4 separate regions of the Homo sapiens genome follow, and regions 1, 3 and 4 are each linked to region 2. The links are contacts of gene promoters, found by promoter capture Hi-C in blood cells and fetal thymus (Javierre and others, 2016). All regions are on one chromosome and are shown on one strand. The core of a region is centred on a gene start or on the middle of the fragment in contact, and the rest is flanking DNA. Distances in the headings are between cores, read along the strand shown.

What was found. The method cuts DNA at HindIII sites, captures the fragments that hold promoters and counts their contacts. A CHiCAGO score of 5 or more calls a contact.
Region 1: a fragment that was not itself captured here is called in contact with the fragment with the promoter of CD276 in region 2 in 4 of 17 cell types (monocytes, M2 macrophages, M1 macrophages and 1 more); the score reaches 10.4 in monocytes.
Region 3: a fragment that was not itself captured here is called in contact with the fragment with the promoter of CD276 in region 2 in 1 of 17 cell types (neutrophils); the score reaches 8.1 in neutrophils.
Region 4: a fragment that was not itself captured here is called in contact with the fragment with the promoter of CD276 in region 2 in 1 of 17 cell types (neutrophils); the score reaches 7.5 in neutrophils.

What each region holds. Positions count from the first base shown.
Region 1 is chr15:73,279,185-73,282,588 of GRCh38, reverse strand. The region is part of intron 22 of NEO1 (neogenin 1); the gene reads right to left. Among named protein-coding and RNA genes, the nearest start is that of MIR12135, 19 kb to the left of the region's middle. The HindIII fragment of the contact is 2,446 bases long and covers 407-2,852 here.
Region 2 is chr15:73,682,634-73,686,001 of GRCh38, reverse strand. CD276 (CD276 molecule) reads right to left here and starts at 1,619. Exons shown (of 10, transcript NM_001024736.2): 1 at 1,542-1,619. RefSeq lists enhancers at 698-1,204, 2,222-2,730 and silencers at 1,189-1,238, 1,399-1,528, 1,539-1,668, 1,789-1,838. The HindIII fragment of the contact is 3,658 bases long and covers 1,135-3,368 here.
Region 3 is chr15:73,242,635-73,245,999 of GRCh38, reverse strand. It overlaps NEO1 (neogenin 1), which reads right to left. Exons shown (of 29, transcript NM_002499.4): 9 at 1,502-1,656. Among named protein-coding and RNA genes, the nearest start is that of MIR12135, 56 kb to the left of the region's middle. The HindIII fragment of the contact is 556 bases long and covers 1,783-2,338 here.
Region 4 is chr15:73,261,483-73,264,962 of GRCh38, reverse strand. The region is part of intron 15 of NEO1 (neogenin 1); the gene reads right to left. Among named protein-coding and RNA genes, the nearest start is that of MIR12135, 37 kb to the left of the region's middle. The HindIII fragment of the contact is 1,108 bases long and covers 1,087-2,194 here.

The sequences.
Region 1 (3,404 bases), core at 380-2,879, 400 kb after region 2:
AGTTTTCTGGTTTTCAAAACCATTTAAAAATGTTCATTCATACAAAGCAGAAGTTTTCCCCAACAGGCAGATATCTGAGATTATAAAAATTGCATGAAAAGTAAAGTCTGTTTTTATAAATACACAGCCTACGCAGAGTTAATTCTCTTGTTCAACTTCAAGAAACAGTAGGTCTGAAGTATGGCTTAATTTGACAAATACTGAATGGTTACTATGTGTCAGTCATTGTTCTAGGTACTAAGGTGCAATGGTGAACAACAAAGATGTGAACGTTTGGCGGGGGAATGGGATAAACGATAAATATGAAATTATTAGTTAATAACTAACGGTGTGAAAAAAAGAAAATGAGGGGTTATGATACAGAGTGTCTGGGTAGCCAATTTAGATTGAATGGTTAGAAAAAGCTTCTCTGAGAAGATGGCATTTGAGTTCAGATCTGAGTAAGAAAGATTCCATCATACAAGGGAAAGGACCCTGAGGCAGGAACAAGCTCTTCTCAAGGAAGAGAAATGCAGCCAGTGTTGTTTAAGCAGAGAGATGCAAGTCAGAAGGAAGGAAGTGAGGAGGAAAAAAGGGATAAGGCTGGAAAAGCTGCAGAGGCTGGACCATTTAGGACCCTGAAGAAGGAAATTCAGATTTTCTTTTCCTTTTCCTATTATTATTTCCCCATTGCTGAAAGGATGAGCTCTAGGCTTTGTAATTTAGCTCTAAGTCTTACTGTCTTCCATTTCTTGAAACATGTTTCTTTGCCTCCCTACTCATTATTTATGTATGCTCATATTATAAAATGTGGCAAATCCCACCACACATGTCTAACCACCATGGATATCTAATCTCTTTCCTTCTAGCTACTCTCTCTCTTAATTTTCTAACAATCAGAGGTGTACAATAATGGGATGAGCTGCCTTGCCAAGAAATGCATCTTTAGTTATTGGAAGTACTTAAGAGGCATCCTGCCAGCGTGGGATGTTGTGGAAGAAGTTCCTACCATCAAAGTATGGCCTGGAATGTGTGTTTTAAAAAAAAATCTCTTGGCTTGGCGCAGTGGCTCACGCCTGTTAATCCCAGCACTTTGGGAGGCCGAGGCGGGTGGATCACGAGGTCAGGAGATCGAGACCATCCTGGCTAACATGGTGAAACCTCGTCTCTAATAAAAAATTCAAAAAAATTAGCCGGGCATGGTGGCGGTGCCTGTAGTCCCAGCTACTCAGGAGGCTGAGGCAGCAGAATGGCGCGAACCTGGGAGGCGGAGCTTGCAGTGAGCGGAGATCGCGCCATGCACTCCAGCCTGGGCGACAGAGCAAGACTCCGTCTAGGGGGGAAAAAATCTCCTGAAGTGGTTCTCCTAACAACCTGGCTTATAAATTTATGTGTTTTTTTTTTTTTTGAGTCTCGCTCTGTCGTCCAGGCTGGAGTACAGTGGCACAATCTCCGCTCACTGCAAGCTCCGCCCCTCTGGTTCATGCCATTCTCCTGCCTTAGCCTCCCGAGTAGCTGGGACTACAGGCGCCCGCCACCATGCCCGGCTAATTTTTTTTTGTATTTTTAGTAGAGACGGGGTTTCACAGTGTTTGCCAGGATGGTCTCGATCTCCTGACCTCGTGATCTGCCTACCTCAGCCTCCCAAAGTGCTGGGATTACAGGCATGAGCCACTGCGCCCGGCCCAAATTTATGTTCTAATCCAAACTTACACTCATTGTGGGAATCCCTTCCACAACGCCGGATTAACTGACCCTCCAACTTTGCTTCTTTGATTTTACAGACTACATCTAAGTACAGTGCTAAATCTGGGGCTGATTTAGAAGGGATTAAGAGCCTATTCTACATTTGGTTCAATCATTTTTATCTTTCATTTATGAGAAAAAGGTAAGCAGACAGACAACTTAAACTGTACATACTGACCTTCAATAAAATAATGTTTTTATATTTGGGAAAGACCATGGTACTGGGGCCACTAAAATGGACCATACTGTTCATATTAGAGTAGGGCTTTCCATAACACTGTTATTAATAGCAGTGCTGAACTACAGGGTTGGGTACTTGGCAGGGCAGGCATTGCAAATTAGAGGCTGGGGAGCTGAAGTATGGGAGGCAGGCAGAGGTGGAGGTGGTTCTTTCCTGCATTTCACTGACAAATTCTCATTTACTCGCATCTGACCTCTTGCGAATGAGCTGGACAAAAGTTTTCTTCTAAGATACAGCAAGAGTGAGCTGCCAAAGAACAGTCCTACCAGGGACAATATATATGCCATTTCTTTATGCCTCATCTGGACTACTATAACAGCTTCCTTTTTTTTTTTTTGAGACGGAACCTCACTCTGCTGCCCAGGCTGGAGTGCAGTGGTGTGACCTCGGCTCACTGCAACCTCTGCCTCCCGGGTTCAAGTGATTCTTCTGCTTCAGCCTTCTGAGTAGCTGGGATTACACGTGCATACCACCACGCCTGGCCTGTAACAGCTCCCTAACCCCTCTTGCCTGACTTTATACTCTTAGCCCCCAACTTATTCTTCACTGCTATCAGAGTAATAACAGTTGATAATAAAAGATGGATGTCATAGTGTACCAGTGGTGTCAGATATTTCACATGTTATTTGTAGGATAAAGCTCATATTTCTTAGCACTGGTACTTGAGTTTTTGACAGGCTGATTCCAACCTGCATTTTCAACTCAATCTCTATCCTTTCTCTATGCAGTGTGACTCCTGGAGAGAGCAGGCTGTTTTATTAATATATTGCCATGCCTCTGCACATGCTGATATTGCTTCCTGGAATGTCCAATCCCTTTCTTGACATTTAGCAATCTTCTAGCATCCTTGAAGATCCGGGTTAGACGGCACCTCTTCTAGGAAGCTTTCCCTTTATCAGGTAGTTTGTTATTAACTCCTCTTGCTCCCACAGCTTGTCACATAGAGCCTGCATCTTTAAAAACGTGCACGCGGGCCCCGGGCGTGGTGGCTCACGCCTGTAATCCCAGCACTTTGGGAGGCCGAGGTGGGCGGATCACCTGAGATCAGGAGATCAAGACTAGTCTGGCCAACATGGTGAAACCCCGTCTCTACTAAAAACACAAAAATTAGCTGGGCGTGGTGGCAGGCGCTTGTAATCCCAGCTACTCGAGAGGCTGAGGCAGGAGACTCCCTTGAACCCGGGAGGTGGAGGCTGCAGTGAACTGAGATCATGCCACTGCACTCCAGCCTGGGTGACAGAGCGAGATTCCATCTCAAAAAAAAAAAAAAACCAAAACCAAAACAACAAAAAAACATGCATGCATGAGTGAATACATGAATGAAAGAAAGACAAAGGAGTAATTACCTTCCTCACAGCCTTAAAAATTATACTGTGGACACAATATAAATGTCACATACACATGGAGAAGAAGAAACTCATAAACAGAGTCCTAGAAC
Region 2 (3,368 bases), core at 370-2,869:
TCCACGGTCAACAGTTACCCTAAGTGTTAGTGCTTAATCTCAAGAACTCCAGATATCAGGAAAATGTACTCACCCAAAATACTCCCTTGAAATGAGCCACTTCATACCCTACAGCCCCATAGCCCTCCATCCTGCCCTGCACTCAGATCAGCTCAACCCATCGGACAGGTTTAGACTTCAAGTTTAGACTTCAGTTCCCCTCAGCCTCAAACTGTCCCACCTATTTGCAGTCCCCCACACTACAAGGAAGGCTGCACAGCATCAGATTTCCTAGGGACTTCTGGGAGGCCAGAGGGAACTAGAGGAGGCCGCACTAAATAAAGAACTCTCTTAAAGACAAAGCAGCTTCATTACTTTCTAATATAGAAACTAACTGCTGAAGACATGCTTATAAGAAAAGGACCCCGGGCTTTAATGAAGAGATCAGACTCATTTACAATTATCCACATCCAATTTGAAGGTAAATCGTTTTTCTAAATTAAGACAACTAACACCCCCCCACCCGCCACACACACACACACACACACACACACACACACACACACACAAATCTTTTTTGCTTTACTATTTGCTTAATGTTTTCCCTCAGTGATAGATCCCATATCTGAGTCATCTATCACGCTTTTCTCATTAGAGCAGGTTTGGCTTAGAAATAAATCCCCTGCCTTAGGCTGCCAAACCTGCCAATTCGCTAGCTAAACGGTCGCAGGGAGGGCCCTGGGCGCTGGAATTCAATCCCCTCCCTTCTAGTGTGCCCCCACTCGGGGTCCCCACCTCCCTCCACCGTCGCCCGCATCTCCTCTCCATCCCACCTCACCCCCCACCTCCCTGAGGCTTCCCAAGCCCAAACTGCCCATCCCAATTCCCTCCCCACCCCCAACACCTATTCACCCCGTGGCCCCTGCCAGCCGTCTCTACCTGTCCTTCCCGGAATCTGACCCCTCATGCTGCCCACGGCTGCCTGTGGAAGTGCACCAGTCGCCCACACCTTCGCCCTGCTGGGCCCTGCAGAGTGGACACGCCTAACCACTCGCCTTCCCTCCCCGCCGCTCCCCTCCCGGAGCTGGGCGTTTTCCTCTGCAGGACCCGAGACCCCGCTAACCTCCCAGCGCCGGCCGGTGGCTTCGTTAAGCTTCAACACGGGACAGATCTGCCCCCATGCCCGCTCCAGACCCGGGGCCTGCAAAAGCGCATTCACCCACCCGGCCCGGTCCGCAGCTTCCGGGGTCTGCAGGTCCGACGGCGCCCGGGCCCCTCTCAACCCGAGGAAAGGGGGGCGGGGTAGGATCCGGGAGCCCCCAGCTCTCCGCGGGCCCCACAGCCCAGGGCAGGAGGGGCGCCCGCGGTTCCCGGGACTCCTGTGCGAGGGGGGCCGCCCGGACCTGGGGGAGGGCAGGGGAGCAGGAGCCCGGAGGGAAGGCGCCCTGCTCAGCTCCTGCAGCCCTGAGCGGGAACGTGCGGACCTCCGCGGGATCCAGGCCCGGCCCGCAGCAGACAAAGGCCGCCCCACCCCGCGCCGCCCGCGCCACGCCAGCACTCACCGCGCCGCGCCGACTCTGGGACTCAGGGACGCGGCCCAGCCTGGCTCAGTCGCCGCCGCAGCGAGGCCCGGCCCGAATGGGGGCCGGGGGCGGCCCGGGGAGTCCGAGGGGCGGGGCGGGCCGCGCCGGAGAATCCGCCTGAGGCCCGGAAAGGCGGCTCCGGTGCGTCCCTGAGGCCGGATTGGCCCCGCGGTGGCGGCTGCTGACCGAGGCCTGAGCCAGCCCGCTGGGCAGAGCACACGGCCTGGCCCCCGCCCCCGCCCCGCCCCGCCCCCAGGCCTGACCCTGGCGGGGAAAACCCTCGGCTCCCGGAGCAGGGCGCTGCCCATCCCCCACCCCGTTCCCACACTTCCAAGAGCCGAATCTTCCTTTCTGCGAGAGGGGATAGGTGACTGACTGGTCATCGACTGGCGGCAGAACAGGGCTGGAATCCTGCTGTCCAACCCCAGTCTTGGGTTCTTCCTCCACACCATGCTGGCACCACAGCCCAGAAAGGGTTAACTCGACTGCGAGGAATTAAGAGCTGCAAGGAGCTCTCTATAAATACAGTGTCGTGGGCGCCTGAGCCAACCGCAGGACAATTTCCACTGAGCTGGTTTTCCTCTTTTCCTTCCACCCACGGCCATCCGACCAGCCCTGCCCCCAGCCCCACCCCAGACTGCTGGCCGGACTTGGCTCCAACAGGCCTGACACCTAGTGGCCTTGGGCTCTGTCCTTACAGGGCCCCGCTCCAGCCTGGGAGGAGATGGGGGTCGGGCCTGTCCAGATTTTGCTGTGGTGCAGCCCATCCCTGCACCTGTTCTTGGATCTGTTCTTCCTCACAGGGACAGTGACAGCTAAAACGTAGGGAGACTTTTGTGGGCCAGAGTTAGGTTAGGAGCTTTCCATGCTGGGCCTCTTTAGTTCCTCCAAACAGCCCCGCCGGCTAGATATTATTATTCCCATTTCACAGATGAGAAAACCAAGGCTCAAAGGGATGAAGGGACTCCAACCTTGTACTGCTGCCAGGCTCACCACCAGTGCCAGTGGCAGTACTGGGCAGGGCTTGGGAAATGAGTATGAAAACATGTGCGTCTCTCTGCATGTGTTGCCACTGTTGTAAGCTCTTTACCATTTTATCTCATTTAATCTTCACAACAACTCATTGAGGTGAATACCATTATTCTCATTTTTACAGATCGGAAATAAGGAAATTAAGATACAAAGAGATTAAGTAACTTGGGGACACATAGCTATGAAGGGAGGAACCGGGATTTGCCCTCTGAATTTAAGTGTGCGTGTGGTGTATGGGTAGGGGTGGTGGTGCATGGGTGTGTATATTTGTGGGGGGTTTTTGTCTTTTTTTTTTTTTTGAGACAGAGTCTGGCTCTGGAGTGCAGTGGCTCAATCTCGGCTCACTGCAACCTCCGCCTCCTGAGTTCAAGCGATTCTCCTGCCTCAGCCTCCAGAGTAGCTGGGATTACAGGTGCGCACCACTATTTTGGCCAGGATGGTCTCGATCTCTTGACCTTGTGATCCACCCGCCTTGGCCTCCAAAAGGGCTGGGATTACAAACGTGAGCCACCGCGCCCGGCCGGGTGTGTATATTTGTGAACACATTCAAGCAACTCTGTATTTGAGTCTACGTGCATATGTGTCTTTGAATCACACAGCAGCTGTGTCTGTGTAATTGCTGACTGCTCCTAGGGATGACAGCAGAGAGGCCCAGCTGTCTTGTCCCTGACCACCTCCAGGAACTCTGGACCATTCCACGCTGCTCCCCACTGCCCTGCCAGGCCCTGACCAGCCTCGTCCAGCCTGGGTCTGGCCTTACAGGTCTCAGGATGA
Region 3 (3,365 bases), core at 811-3,310, 440 kb after region 2:
ACAAATATATCTAAAATACTCTCTACCCAAAGTAAAATATTTTATTATTACTGGAGGTTTTTAATACAGAAAAACTAATGCTGTTAATAATAAAATTAGACTGAAGAATACACTGAGGTGGCCGGGTGCGATGGCTCATGCTTGTAATCCCAGCACTTTGCGAGGCCGAGGCGGGCGGATCACGAGGTCAGGAGATTGAGACCATCCTAGCTAACACAGTGAAACCCCGTCTCTACTAAAAATACAAAAAAAAAAAAATTAGCTAGGCATGGTGGCAGGCACCTGTAGTCCCAGCTACTCAGGAGGCTGAGGCAAGAGAATGGCGTGAACCCAGGAGGCAGAGCTTGCAGTGAGCAGAGACTGTGCCACTGCACTCCAGCCTGGGCGACAGAGCGAGACTCCGCCTCAAAAAAAAAAAAAAGAATACACTGAGGAAAAACAGTAATTTGTGTTAAAAGAAAGCAAAAGTCTAGACAAAAGCCTCAAGTAGGAAAAGCATTTATTAAGATCTGGCTGCTTGTAATTTCGGTCCTATAGTTAGTTTACAATCCAAACTTAAGATATACAACACATTTATAATATAAATAAACCTGATTGACACTCACGTCACTGAAAATCTTAGAAATGTAATTAGAAGTAACCCTATTTAGCACGAAAGACCACAGGTCCAAAATAAAGCCTCAAGGAGATTCTAAAGAGCATGGTATGCCTAAAGACAGACAATCCAGTTAAGAACAATTATTAAATACCTTCTTCATGTGCAAGGCATTACATTAGACACTGTGGGAAATGTAAGGATGACAAAGGCTCTGTCTTTGCTACAAAATCAGCAAGGTAAGTTCATAATCATAACTGAAGGAAAAACGTGATAAATATCTTAGACTGTGGAGATAACAATATTAGAATCAGAGGAAAGATTCTAGAAGGCATCTGAGCTAAGTCTTAAAGGGTCAGTAAAATATGAACACGTAGAAAAGCACCAACAGAAGTATATTGTCTTATACTATTTGCTGTTGTTTTTTTTTTTTTTTTTTTTTTTTTTTTTGAGACAGAGTCTCACTCTGTCACCCAGACTGGAGTACAGTGGTGCAATCTCAGCTCACTGCAACCTCCACCTCTTGGGTTCAGGTGATTCTCCTGCCTCAGCTATTCTCCCGAGTAGCTGGGATTACAGGCACCCACTACCATACCCGGCTAATTTTTGTATTTTTAGTAGAGATGGGGTTTCACCATGTTGGCCAGGCTGGTCTAAAAAACCTGACCTCAGGTGATCTGCTTGCCTCGGCCTCCCAAAGTGCTTGGATTACAGGCATGAGCCACTACACCCAGCCCTACTTGCTGTTTTTTGATGTAAATTAATTTTGCCTCCCCTAATTGATAAGGACCCCGAAAGTAAGGAACTGTTATCTTCTGCTCCCCTATGGTGTGCAAGGCTAAACAAAGGTAGAACTTCAGAGAGGTCTACCTCTAGGGGGTGCTGACAGACAGGTGGAAGACTTACCCTCAGGTTGTGTTTCTACTCGCAGTGGAGCTGAACTCTCTCCTGAGCCATGCTTATTTTGAGCCATAACTCTAAAGATGTACACGGTCGCTGGCATTAGGTTTTGAATGGTTACTTGCATCTCTCCTGGGTGACTGGTATTCTCAACACGTTCCCTTTAGACAAAGGATTTGGAGAGAGATAGCATTAATTAGGAATACTTCCAGAATGTACAGTTTCATTTTCCACTCCACATAAAAATCTATCAGTGTAAGTCAAATTAGCTCTCAAACAATGAAGCTTTTGGGGGTAGGACAGTGCAAAGAAGATGGGGACTGGCAAAAGAGCAAGGGCATACGTATCTGACAAATCAGTGATGTTCTTGCTGAAATGTTACTGATATCGCTGACCATAATCACAACTTCCTTTCAGAGAAGACACAGGGCTCTTCTCAATGCCATTTCAAATGGGGCAGCTAGTCATCAACTTTCTAGGCTTTAGAAATCACTGAGTTTTAGGGAAATTGATGGAAGGTGGATATTGGTATGACCTAATGATATTTCACAGAAAATATCAAAGAATGCTGTGTATATTTTGGCTAAGAGACTCTCAATAAAAAGAATGCTAGAGGTTATCATCTTTTAAAATTGGAAATAAAAACATAAAACATTTAAATAAATCCTAAGTGTAACCCAGTCTATAAAATAAACTGATTACAATACTGATTTTTATAATTTCTTAAAATTAACACTTCATTGATTTTGAAGCTGATATGAAATGATATGAAATGTTTGACAAACTTTATCACAAACAACTCAAATCCAGCGGTCTAGTATTTAATATCATGAGATGAAAGCTTAAAACCAGTTATCTAGGTTCTTTACTAAAGGTGGCTTCCAGGTTCTGTCTTGGGGTCTGTGTGACCAACACAGGTCCACAAACATGCTCAGTCTACTGTACTCACTAGAATGAAAACCAGACTGCATAATCAAGAGTTTTCAACAAATATTGTGAAGGAATTTGTTTTAGACAAACAGTTGGCTTTTAGGAACTGTCATTCATGTGAGGAAACAGCTATACCTGTCTTGAGAAAGTAATTAAAGAGCCTCAAACTACTCCATTGAAGAAATTATTCTAATTTATTGAATTAAAATTCTTACTTTAAAATACTGATAATTTGCCTTCAAATTGCAGATTAAAATTTGTGTAGGTCTACATGACCATATGCCAATTTGTCTGATTGTGAGCATTTGCACTGCAGAGAAGTGCTTTTTGGTAATTTTCTATAGTTCTTTTAAGTTACTTTATTTTAATTAAAAAATCCAACAATAGTACCCACACAATATTTACAGAGGATTTTTTCTCTATAATCAGCTAGGTCCCCTGGAAAAGAATACTGTAGTAACAAAAATTATTTTTCAGAGATACTTGAGATACCTAATACTATTTTCTCTTCGGCTAAATCTCTCAATCACAGGATTTATAAGGAAGGATCAACTGATTTCTTACAATTTAAGGTTTCTGACACTTGGTCTGATCATGGATGATCCCTGTCTTAAAGGGAAGTACAGCTGATGCTTGAACAAGACAGGTTTGAACTGTGTAGGTCCACGTATAAGCGGATATTTTTCAACAGAAGTTACACCGAGTGCGCCTGCCTTTCCTGCCCTGCTTCCATTTCCTCCACCTCTTCTGCCTCTGCTACTCCTGAGACAATAAGACCAACCCCTTTTCTTCTTCTTCCTCCTTTTCAGTCTACTCAACCTGAAGGTGAAGACCTTTAGGATCATCTACTTTCACTTAATGTACAATAAATAGTTTCTCTTAAGATTTTTTTGTTTGTTTGTTTTGAGACAGGGTCTCACTCTGTCACCCAGGCTGGAGT
Region 4 (3,480 bases), core at 391-2,890, 420 kb after region 2:
ATTTCTCTCCCTCAGCACCGTGAACAATTTCAATTATTTTTGAATTGTATTATTTCTAATAATTGTGAGAACGTCTGTCTCATTCTCTGCTCTATCTCTAGCACAGTGTCTGGGACATTGTAAGTGTTTATTAAATATTTGCTGATTGATCAACAGGTTTGAGGGAGAAGGCATTAACTTTAATTTTGGGCCAGATGGAATATGAGATATATCCAGGTGCTGATACCCAGTAGGCAGATGTTTATATGGATCTGAAGGTCAGGGGAGAGTTCCAGGATGATGAATAGATGAATTGCTAACTGCATTTCTCCACCTCTCACTTGCTTCTTTTACTCAACATCATAGGCATCTTAGATCTATCTAGGTCAATAATTATAGCTCAAGCTTATTTTACTTTATGCTGCATTAATTTTTTTGCTACTCTGCAATGTGCACTCCATTTTCTAATAAATTCTATCTGCTTACTCTCTTCTGCACATGCAGCACTCCTCTCATCTCTCTATTTCAAACGCTATTTTGATTCTATCTTTCAAGCTCAGGGGTTTCTTCCCTGACTGCTCTACTGTGTCTTGCTATAGCGTTCTCCCTTCTCTGAACAAAATTCACTTCAACTCACTTCACTGTTTCTTGTGTTTTCTTTTTGTTCTGTTAGACTGAAAGCACCTGAAGATCAAGGACCATGTCCTGTCAATACTGCAAAGGAGTTTCACATCAGTAGTTGCATAAAGGAAACAGTATGAAGCTGGTCACTACAGGGACATTTTTTTTTTTTCTTTTCAGACAAAGTCTTGCTCTGTCACCCAGCTGGAGTACAGTGGTATAATCAGGACTCACTGCAGCCTTGACCTCTAGGGATCAAGCGATCCTCCTATCTCAGCCTCCCGAGTAGCTGGGACTAGAAGCACACACCACCATGCCTAGCTAATTTTTTAAATTTTTTGTAGAGATGAGGTCGCAATATGTTGCCCAAGTTGGTCTTGAACGTCTGGGCTCAAGCGATCCTCCTGCCTTAGCCTCCCAAAGTGCTGGGATTAGAGGTGTGAGCCACTGTGCCTGGCCAGACATTTTTATTCTACCAGCAAAGCTTTCCTTTTGCTAACAATTGTCTTAAAAGATGTTCACGTGGGGGATACATTTCCTAGGTTAACTGTACTGTTTCTTCCTTGTAAGGAAAAAGCTAAAGGTTACTTTTTTTTTGAATATTTAAATCCCAGCTTATTTTTTAACAGAAAGGATGAATATAACTCTTCTGTTAGGCACTTGAAGTTGTTCTTAGAAAAGATGTTTACAAAGAAACGATCTGAATGAAAATTTGGTCAGGGCAGATTTTAATTTTAGAAACAAGTGTTTCAAAAAAGATCTATAACGATAATCCAATTTGGAAAAGTAATTATACCTAACAAAATAAATTATTTATTATAAAATATAAATATTTCTCAAATTCTTTTGCTTTTAAAATCAACAATGAGGCCGGGTGCAGTGGCTCACGCCTGTAATCCCAGCACTTTGGAAGGCTGAGGTGGGTAGATCATCTGAGGTCAGGAGTTTGAGACCAGCCTGGGGCAACATGGTGAAACCCCATCTCTACCAAAAATACAAAAATTAGCTGGGCATGGTGGCGCAAGCCTGTAATCCCAGCTACTCAGGAGGTTGAGGCAGGAGAATCATTTGAACCCAGGAGGTGGAGGTTGCAGTGAGCTGAGATCGCGCCACTGCCCTCCAGCCTGGGCAACAGAGTGAGATGCTGTCTCAAAAAAAAAAAAAAAAAAAAAGTCAACTATGAGGTATAATTAGCATATAATAAAATGTATCCATTTAACTGTACATTTACAGTTTTGACAAATATATATACCTTGCATCATAACCACCAAAATCAAGATATAGAACATTTCCAATACTCCGAGAAGCTCCCTGGTGCCCTTGTAGTTGATTCCTAACACCCCTGGTTCCAGGCAACCACTGATCTTGCTTTGTCACTATAGATAAATTCTGCCTATTTTGTAATTCACAAAATATAACAGTGTTTGACGTCTTTGGTCAGCATGTTTATGAGATTAATTTCTGTTGTGTCTTGATAGCCTATTAATTGCTGAGTAGTACTCCATGGATATATCACGATTTACCACTTACCTGTTGATGAAAATTTGTTATTTCCCCTTGTTCATAAAGTTACTATGAACATTGTATATAAGCTTTTACACAGACATGTATTTTTATTTCTTTTAATTATCTACGTGTGGGATTACTGGGTTATAACTTTACAAGAAACCTCTAAACTGTTTTCCAAAGTGGTTGTACTGTCAAACATTCCTACCAGCTAGTATGAGCATTCCAGTTCTGTATCCTTGTTGATATTTGTTATTGCCAGTCTACTAACATTTAGCAATTCTAGCGGGTGTGCAATAGCATTTCATTGTGGGTTTAATTTGCATTTTCTGATGATTAATGTTGCCGAGCATCTTTTCATATGGTTATTGTCCACTCATATATTTTCTTTGGTATAGTGTCTGTTCAAATCTCCTGCCCACTTTTTATTGGGTTACCTTCTTATTATTGAGTTGTAAGAGTTTTTATATATTTTGGACTCAAATTCTTTGTCAGATATTTAAATGGTGGGTATTTTCTCCAAGTCTGTGGCTTGCCTTTTCATTTTATTGGTATGTTTCTAAAAGTAGAAGTTTTAAAATTTTGATGAAATCCAATTTATCAATTTTTAAATTTTATGATTTGTGCTGTTTTACAACCTAAGAGGTCCTTGCCTATCCCAAAGTCATAAAGATTTTTTCCTACACTTTCTTCTAGAATTGTTGTCCCAAAGTCATTGGGTCATTTGCATTTAGGTCTGTTTTTGCATATAGCGTAAGACAAGGGTTAAAGTTCCTTTTCTTTCTCATATGGATATCCAGGTATTCCCACAACTTTTGTTAAAAAGACTGTCTTCTCCCCACTAAATTATCTAAGCAGCTTTTCTAAAAACCAACTGACTATATACATATGGATCTATTTCTGGACTCTATTCTGTTCCATTGATGTATAACATCTTCCTTTACAATACCACCACTATGTCTCAATTATAAGAAGACATGAAATCAGCTAGTATGGGTCTTCTAATTTTATTCTTTAAAAAAATTGTCTATTCTAGTTCCTTTGATTTTTCATAAAAATTATTAGAATCAGCTTATCAATTTCTACAAAAAAGCCTATTGTGACTTTTCTTGGACTGCACTGGGGAGAATTGTCACCTTAGTAATATCACGGCTTCCAACCAGTGAACATGGTATCTTAAGTATTCTTTAATTTCTCTCAGTAACAATTTTCTATTTTCAGTGCACAGATATTACACACATTTTATAAGTCTGCTCCTATGTACTTCATATTTTTTGATGCTATTCTACGTGGTATTGTTATTTTAATTCCAATTTCCAACTGCTTATTATTAGTATATGGAGATACAACTGTTTTTGTATATTCACTTTGTAT